3 separate regions of the Homo sapiens genome follow, and all the other regions are linked to region 3. The links are contacts of gene promoters, found by promoter capture Hi-C in human tissues and cell types (Jung and others, 2019). All regions are on one chromosome and are shown on one strand. Each heading gives the region's core, a stretch centred on a gene start or on the middle of the fragment in contact. The rest is flanking DNA. Distances are from core to core; before and after follow the strand shown.

Evidence for each region. Contacts are between HindIII fragments. The study calls those that stand out against the background at their distance.
Region 1: a fragment that was not itself captured here is called in contact with the fragment with the promoter of PI3 in region 3 in 2 of the 25 tissues and cell types used here (dorsolateral prefrontal cortex and spleen).
Region 2: the fragment with the promoter of WFDC6 here is called in contact with the fragment with the promoter of PI3 in region 3 in 2 of the 25 tissues and cell types used here (mesenchymal stem cells and stomach).

Annotation. Positions count from the first base shown.
Region 1 is chr20:45,678,651-45,681,350 of GRCh38, forward strand. No RefSeq gene overlaps it. Among named protein-coding and RNA genes, the nearest start is that of WFDC11, 9.8 kb to the left of the region's middle. The HindIII fragment of the contact is 5,827 bases long and covers 1-2,700 here.
Region 2 is chr20:45,538,045-45,540,744 of GRCh38, forward strand. WFDC6 (WAP four-disulfide core domain 6) reads right to left here and starts at 1,438. Exons shown (of 3, transcript NM_080827.2): 1 at 1,273-1,438; 2 at 1-50. The coding sequence starts at 1,363. EPPIN-WFDC6 (EPPIN-WFDC6 readthrough) reads right to left here. Exons shown (of 5, transcript NM_001198986.2): 4 at 1-50. It overlaps EPPIN (epididymal peptidase inhibitor), which reads right to left. Exons shown (of 4, transcript NM_020398.4): 4 at 2,582-2,700. It overlaps LOC107987282 (a long non-coding RNA gene), which reads left to right. Exons shown (of 4, transcript XR_001754641.3): 3 at 492-635; 4 at 2,031-2,343. It also overlaps the pseudogene HSPD1P21. The HindIII fragment of the contact is 28,992 bases long and covers 1-2,700 here.
Region 3 is chr20:45,173,492-45,176,191 of GRCh38, forward strand. PI3 (peptidase inhibitor 3) reads left to right here and starts at 1,411. Exons shown (of 3, transcript NM_002638.4): 1 at 1,411-1,510; 2 at 2,370-2,645. The coding sequence starts at 1,432. The coding sequence ends at 2,644. RefSeq lists an enhancer at 1,001-2,200. The HindIII fragment of the contact is 10,589 bases long and covers 1-2,700 here.

The DNA of each region.
Region 1 (2,700 bases), core at 54-2,553, 510 kb after region 3:
GTGCACCTGGGCTTTGTGGATTTGGGCCTTCCCATAAATTTTGTCCCCTACAATACTCTGGCCCCCCCACCAGTCTCTTCAATATGGCATCCCCACTGATCAAAGCACTGAACAATCACCAAGATCCACATGCCAGTTGCTGCAATCAGTGACCTACTCTTTGTCCCCAATTCACCCCAGGTTTTTCAGCCCTCTTGGTTCTCTAGTGGGATGAAACTGGAGTGGACTTACCATTAAGATTCCTAGACAAGTGGGAAGATCAAATATCCACCTCCAATTCCTTCTTCTCATCTCAGCAACTGTGGGTCTAGGGAAGTTCTCTGTGAGTGGTATTATTATGGCCTGGGAGAGAGGGTGGAACAGGCTGAAATGACCATTTCTCTTACCTGTCACTGCTTCTCTCAATTCTATGAGCCCAGGGGGTTTCTCTGCTTCTCAAGTTCTGGTGTATTCAGGGTGGCATTCTTGTCTTTGAATAGTTTTTCATTTTATTTTTGTGTCAGGAAGTGATCCCAGGAGATCTATTCTGCCATCTTGCTGACATCACTTCCCAGTTTAGTCCTGAGGTATCAGGGATGGATTAAGAAGCACATGGCTTTCCCCATCCTGGGAAAATTCTCCAGGACAGGGCAAACCAGCTCTTGCACCAGAGACATATCCACAGAGTAGCCTTTCTTGTATTGTCACTCTCTGCAGCTCATATCCTTGTGCTGGGCTGTGAGGCAGGCACTAAGGACACTCTTTAGGTAACAGTGGAACGCAGAACAAAGAGAAGTCAAGCTAGCCTCAGAGAAGAGAAAATTTGTCTTAAGTTTTTGATATCACAATCTGCATCTTTTTATAATTTGTATCCCTTGACAAATTATTGTAGGTTTCATTGTTTTTAATAGCTTTGCCTTTTAATGTTATTAAAGATATAATTTATTTACCCACTGACATTACAGTATCAGAGTATTTTGGATTTCACAATGTATTTACTTTTATCAGTGAATGTTATACTTTCATATGTTTTCCAGTCACTAATTAGTGTCCTCTTCTTCAGCTTGAAGAACTCTCTTTAGCACTTCTTGTAAGGCAAGTCTAGTAGTAATAAACTCTCTCAGCTTCTGTTTGTCTGAGAAAGTCTTTATCACCCCTTCATTTTTGAAAGAAAAGATTTCTGGGTATAGTATTCTTGGTTGACAGGGTTGTTTTATTCAGGATTTTTAATATAACATCCCACCCCCTTCTGGCCTACAAAGTTTCTGCTGAGAAATCTGCTGATAATCTAAGGGAGGGTTCTCTTGTGTGTAGCAATTCACTATTTCCTCACTGTTTTTAAAACTTTCTCTGTCTTTTTGCATGTATGGCAGGGGGAGGGTGGTGAGTATTCTGGTTTCTTCCATCCTATGGTGAAGGTGAATGCCAGTATTTATCTCTCCCTCTCTCTGCACTAAGCTGGAGAGATAATCTGTGACAAATGCCTATACTTGTGTCCAAACTGCACCCTCTGATCCTGGTGAGATAGCTGCTTGATATGGTTAGAATCTGTGTCCCCATCCAAATCTCATGTCAAGTTGTAATCCCCAATGTTGGCGGTGGACCTGGTGAGAGGTGATTGGATCACGGGGGTAAATCCTTCATGAATGGTTTAACATCATCTCTTTGGTGCTGTTCTCATGATAGTGAGTGAGATGTGGTTGTTTAAAAGTATATAGTACATCCCTCACCCCGCTCCTCCTCCAGCCATGTGAAGATGCCTGCTCTGGCTTTGTCTTCTGCCATGAGTAAAAGCTCCTGAGGCCTCCTCAGAAGCAGATAGTGCCATGCTTCCTGTATAGCCCATAGAACCATGAGCCAATTAAACCTCTTTTCTTTATAAATTATGCAATCTTGAGTATTTATTTATAGCAATGAGAGAATGGACTAATACATGCTGAAAGTGGGCCCGTTGTATGCCCATGTCTTTGTTTTCTGTAGTCCCAGGCCGCTTAGGAATGCAAAGTCTCATTGGGAATGCAAAGCCCCATTAGTCCCCAGAGCTAGGTTGATAAGGAGACAGTCCCTTGGGTGGAAACTATAGAAGCTTAGGTACTCAGTACACGGACAAACTCCTTCCAGGAAGAATGGGTCGACTGGATTTATCACTGGGATGAGCCAAAGGAAAGGCTCAGAAAGTGCTCAGCTCAAGCTCAGGATGACAGGGAGCTACTTTCTCCCCTTAGGTCCTCAATGCAAATTCATTAAAAGCAAGGTCATCAAGTAGCCACCAATAGAGTAAGCAGGAAACCCCTTGCAAAGAGAAAATGGGAGCTCAGCATTCTAGTCCCTTTTCTACACTGCTCCCAGGAGATGTAGACCCTGGCAGTGTTATTATGTCCATTTAAAACCACCTTTTTGGCTGGGTGCAATGGCTCAGCCTGTAATCCCAGTACTTTGGGAGGCTGAAGTGGGTGGGTCACTTGAGGTCAGGAGTTCAAGACCAGCCTGGCCAACATGGTGAAACGCTGTCTCCACTAAAAATACAGAACATTAGCCAGATGTGGTGGTGCATGCCTGTAGTCCCAGCTACTTGGGAGGCTGAGACAGGAGAACCGCTTGAACCCGGGAGGTGGAGGTTGCAGTGAGCCAAGATTATGCCATTGCACTCCAGTCTGGGTGGCAGAGTGAGACTCTGTTTAAAAAACAAACAAACAAACAAAAAAACCTTTTTGTATGTGA
Region 2 (2,700 bases), core at 188-2,687, 360 kb after region 3:
CTGGTCTATTTCTTCCACTTCGCATTCCACTTTGATTTTGGGACACGGCTCTAAGGGAGGGGAAGATATATTCCCTCAAGGCCTTAAAGGAGCCAGTGCTCCCCCTCCCCGAGACCAGGGCACCCCTCCAGAGTTAGAGAACTTTGTTTCCACTTCACCTATCCCCAGAAGGTAGTGGCCCTCAGGGGGCTCAGGAATTTCACAACACTGCTCACATCCCCAACCCCATAACAACTCACCATCGGATGCCTAAACCAACCCCTACCCCCTACCCGCACCATCTATGAGATTCCTGAGAGAAAGACGCATTCCTCTAAGACTGTTCTGGTCACTCAGCCTTGCTGTGCTTGGTTGCTCCCCCAGGAGGTGCTGTGGCTCTCGATGATTGAGATTAACATTTCTGGCATCAGATAGCTGGGCTTTTGAATTCTGTGAGACGCTTGGTGTGCCAGGCACTCTCTCTGAGCCTTGATTTCCTCATTTGCCCATAGGGTTGCTTTGAAGACTAACCAGCAACACAGTTTGACAAGCCATCGTCAAACTGCCTGGGGCAATGTAACGTAACAATGAGTAATATGGATGAAGCACTTACTGTGAGCTGCCTTTTCTCCTTAATCCTCATTACAAATCTATGGGTAAGTACTCTTAATATTCACATTTTGTAAACAGAAGAATTGGAAGCATAAGGAGATTATGTGAATTTGCCCAAGATCACACAGCTACTCAGGGGTGGAGCCAGGTTTGAACCTACAATGTGTGGCTCCTGAGTGCTCACTTTCAACCACTAATTTTCAGTGCCCAGTACAGTTAGCTGCTAATTGTGAGTCTTCACATTTCAGCATTCCAAGGGACTTCTGGAGACCATTCTTTAACCCAAAGACCAGGGTCCTCTGTGGGTATGGGTGTGGGGGCTGCAATGAGAACATTTGGAAGTTGACACAGGTGGTGTTGTGGGGAGCAGCCTGTTTTTCTTGTGGGAGACTTCCTTGGGCTTACTACTCCTTCTTAGTTCATTTCATGAGCTCTAGGTCCAGGCACCTCCAGGAAGAACTCTTTGGAATGGCAGCAAGGAGTCACTTGCCACAGATTTGGATGCCTGTATTCACCAAGGGAGTCTCTTACCAAGAGACTTCAAATAGCTCCCCTCTTTCCCACCTGGAATTCCAGGCAGAGGTGGAGAAAATAATTTCTCAGCTGCAAAATTATTCTTTGTTCCTTCCTCCCCACTGAGTTTCCTTTCCCCATTGCAAGGACGGAGTTCCCAATACTTACTGCCAAGGATGCCTTCAGCGTGCCCAGGTTCCTGGATGTCCCCCAAAAGGATGAATGGTACCAGGATTGGCAGAAGTCCTGAGAGTCCCATTTTAGGAAGTACTGGCCTGGTTGATGGCACCAAAACTAAGAACTGCTCCTCAGCAGCTCCTACATCTGCACTTTGCCTGCCCCGGTGTGGCCCAGCACCTTAAGAGACAGCCCTGGAGACAAGCCAGCCAGACTCCCCGATCAGGAACACCAGATCCCTGAGGCCATCAGTGGGACTACCTGGTACCTACACTGGGGGATAGGTGGCTCCTAATCCTCAGCAATCTGAGGCTTTCTGGTCTACCAGGGAAAGAGGGCACATGTTGTCTTGGGCTTTCCAGGCTCCCTTAGCAGAAGGGGAGGTTTAACTCCAGAGTCTTCCATTTCCCAGGGGGAGTTTGCAGGTTAACAGTATGCTAGCTCTCTTCCTTCTTTCTAATTTCACTCTTCTCCTGACATGTCTATTCTTATGTTTTATTTTTCTCACTCTGTTTCTTCTCTTTTCTGTGCATCTGTATGTCTTTTACTCTGTGCCTGTCTTTTTCTCAGGGAGTCTCTGTCTGTCTGAGTCTCTTTCTCCCCGCCCTTCACTTCCCTCTCTCTTCTTTCGTATGTAAAGATCAGTTACATTTATCCTTTAAGTCGTTTGATTTTGCAACAGTAAATAACTTCTTTCATTACTTTGGGACTTCTCCAACTCTGTTCTCCGTTTTTCCCTGTTGTCACAGCTACAGCATTGGATTAAAAGTCACACCCTGAAGCATTAACGCTTGAGCATCTGTACCAAGTTTTATATCCTTGGTATAAGCCCGAAGGAGGTGAGGAGCCAGTTACCTGGGCATCAGTTCCATCTGGCAAAGGACTGTGGGTAATGGAAGCATTTCTGCAGGGTGGCAGCAGGGTGTGTGTGCAGCAAGGCATGTCATCAGTGGTGAGTGAGAAGTTCATTCCTTTTTATGGCCGAATAATAGCCAATGCACATTGACAGCCTCCTACCTCTAGCATCAGTCCCTAATTTTCTGCTGTGGGTTTTCTCTGGCCCCCAGGGAGCTTGTATAGCTTGCAAGTATAACAGTTTGAAAGAGCGAGGGATTTAGTATCCCTGGCATCCAGTGGGCGTTGGGAATCAGTGGACAAATAGCTTAGCTTTCCCATCACTGGAGACAGATTAAGAAAATTTGTGGTCTGATATCCAGAATCTACAAGGAACTTAAACAAATTTACAAGAAAAAAAACAAACAACCCCATTGAAAAGTGGGCAAAGGACATGAACAGACACTTCTCAAAAGAAGACATTTATGCGGCCAACAAACATATGAAAAAAAGCTCAACACCAGTGATCATCAGAGAAATGCAAATCAAAACCACAATGAGATACCATCTCATGCCAGTCAGAAT
Region 3 (2,700 bases), core at 161-2,660:
GTGGGCATGTGGTCAGAGTCTAAATCGACAAGGGGTGGGGATTTCACCAGCTGAATTAGTGTCCAATAATTAGTTTGTTACCTTCCCTGCCTTAACTCCACCTCAACTCAGTGACTTTCTTAACTCAGATTCTGTCCCTGACAATACCCAACTTCAGGATATTCATTTCTATTACTCAGAACTTTTGGTAACAATGACAGAATAGTAAGTCAGACTAGCTGAAGCAGAGGGCTAATTTATTGCCTCATAACCCAACCATGAGAAGGGTGTGTGAAGAACTGCTCTCAAGGTAAAGGAGGGAAACCTGGCTGTGTCATCTGAATCTTCTCTCACCATCACTTCTCTCCTTGTCTCAGTGTATTAGAGTCGTTTTTCTCAGACAATTGATCTCCACCCCCAGACTTAGATAACCACTTCTGGAATTCCCTGGTTCATATATATCACCTTTTCCAGAAGAAGGAACCCCCGTTTTCCCCTTTCATTACTCATTCAAATAAAATATGTTAATAGACCAGACCAAGTCTCACACACAACACACACACACACACTCACACACACACACACACACACACACCCCTACCTGTGGTCAGGGGTCAGGCTTTCATGATTAGCAGTCCCCATTAGACTCACAAGTTGATGGTTCAAAGAGACAACAATTCTTCACAAGAAACAGGGTGCTGTTCAAAGAAGTGGGGAGGCATGCTGGACACACACACTGTAGATGTCCAATGTATACATGATACATGTTTTCTACTACTTTCTGATTATTTTCTCCCTACCACTGTGATTTCAAGGGCATCATCCCTCTTCAGACCTAGAATTCCACCTTCCAATTACTTTCTTGATGCATCTGAAAGGCCGTCTCTGAAACAGCAAAGTGCAATAATTAGTCATTATGTATTCAAGGCAAATTTGTCTTACAGAGTTTTTTGCAGGACCAGGGAAGAAGGAAGGAAATGCCCAGTTTGATGCTGGGAGTGGTAAAATGATAAAGTAGATCTGGGTGGGGTTTGTAGCACCAGAGCATAATGGAGAAACACCTTGGTTTTGTAATCAAGACTGGATCTACCAGTGACTTGCTGAATAACCTTCGGTGATTCCTTTCTCTTCTTGGGTCTCACTGTATTTCAAAACATGAAGAATTTCATTGTAATGTTACCTAATAAGTGAGCCAGCACTTCTACTCTGTGAGAAAGTAGGAAAACTCTTGGGACAATCAGAGATGATGTGATGTAATGTCCATTAGTTCTTCCTGTGAATAATCCTGAGGGAAAGCCCCCAGGTCCCTCCCAGAATGGGGTGGATATTTCCCAATACAGCTAAGGAATTATCCCTTGTAAATACCACAGACCCGCCCCTGGAGCCAGGCCAAGCTGGACTGCATAAAGATTGGTATGGCCTTAGCTCTTAGCCAAACACCTTCCTGACACCATGAGGGCCAGCAGCTTCTTGATCGTGGTGGTGTTCCTCATCGCTGGGACGCTGGTTCTAGAGGCAGCTGTCACGGGAGGTGAGTGAACAGGTGACCTGCTGGGCTGGGTTGGACTAAGGGGAGACCCTCTGGGACACCCTGGGCCAGGACAGGGAGCACTTCTGAAGCAGTAGGCAGCACTGGAGCCCAGATTTCAGCTTTCTGTTCTTTGCCATCATATTCAGAAAAAATAGGACTTTGGCTGGTGGACTCCACGTGCTTTCCACCTCAGTGACTGAGATATCAGGACTGTTTGTGGAAGTAATGTTGGTATGTGGCCTTGGCCTCAGATGTCAATACCTGTGCAGAATGTGCAATAAAATAATGAACTCCAGGATTTTAAACCTTGGGTGTGGACACAGTCCCCCGTTTCTCTGCCCCATAAAAGCACTGGAGTAATCAGTACTCTAAAAGGAGGTTAAGAAACAACAAGCCTTCAGGAATCATGTTGTTTGAGGACCCCCATTTTATAAGGAGGGAACCAAAAATGTAGAAATGAGTGAGCAATTGCCAAGGTAATTCCCAGAGCCAGGATGGGGCTCAAGTCTCCTAGTATGTGGCTCAGGGTTCTTTCCTACTCCAATGCACTTCCTAACAAATGACAATGTGTCCTCTTCACTGCTGGGTGTCACCCCAGTCTGACCACTGCTCCTGAGAGACTTGGAGTGGAGGAAGGGGGAAGAAACAAATACTCAAGGGAACTCTGGTCCAGTAGACCACCCCAAAAAAGGAAGAGCCTTCCAAGAGTGTAGCTCCCAGAGGTGTACCTTCCCTACTCAGGCCATGGTTTGAGGATGCTGCAGTAAGCAGTGGATGGACCCAGACCCAGAGGAAAGACATGGCAGCTGAAGCAGAGGCTTACTGGGTATAAATGTGGGCTCGTTTCTTCTTTTAACAGTTCCTGTTAAAGGTCAAGACACTGTCAAAGGCCGTGTTCCATTCAATGGACAAGATCCCGTTAAAGGACAAGTTTCAGTTAAAGGTCAAGATAAAGTCAAAGCGCAAGAGCCAGTCAAAGGTCCAGTCTCCACTAAGCCTGGCTCCTGCCCCATTATCTTGATCCGGTGCGCCATGTTGAATCCCCCTAACCGCTGCTTGAAAGATACTGACTGCCCAGGAATCAAGAAGTGCTGTGAAGGCTCTTGCGGGATGGCCTGTTTCGTTCCCCAGTGAGGTGAGCACTAGCTGGAGAACGAGGAGACCCCTGAAGACACAAAAGAAGGCTGAGC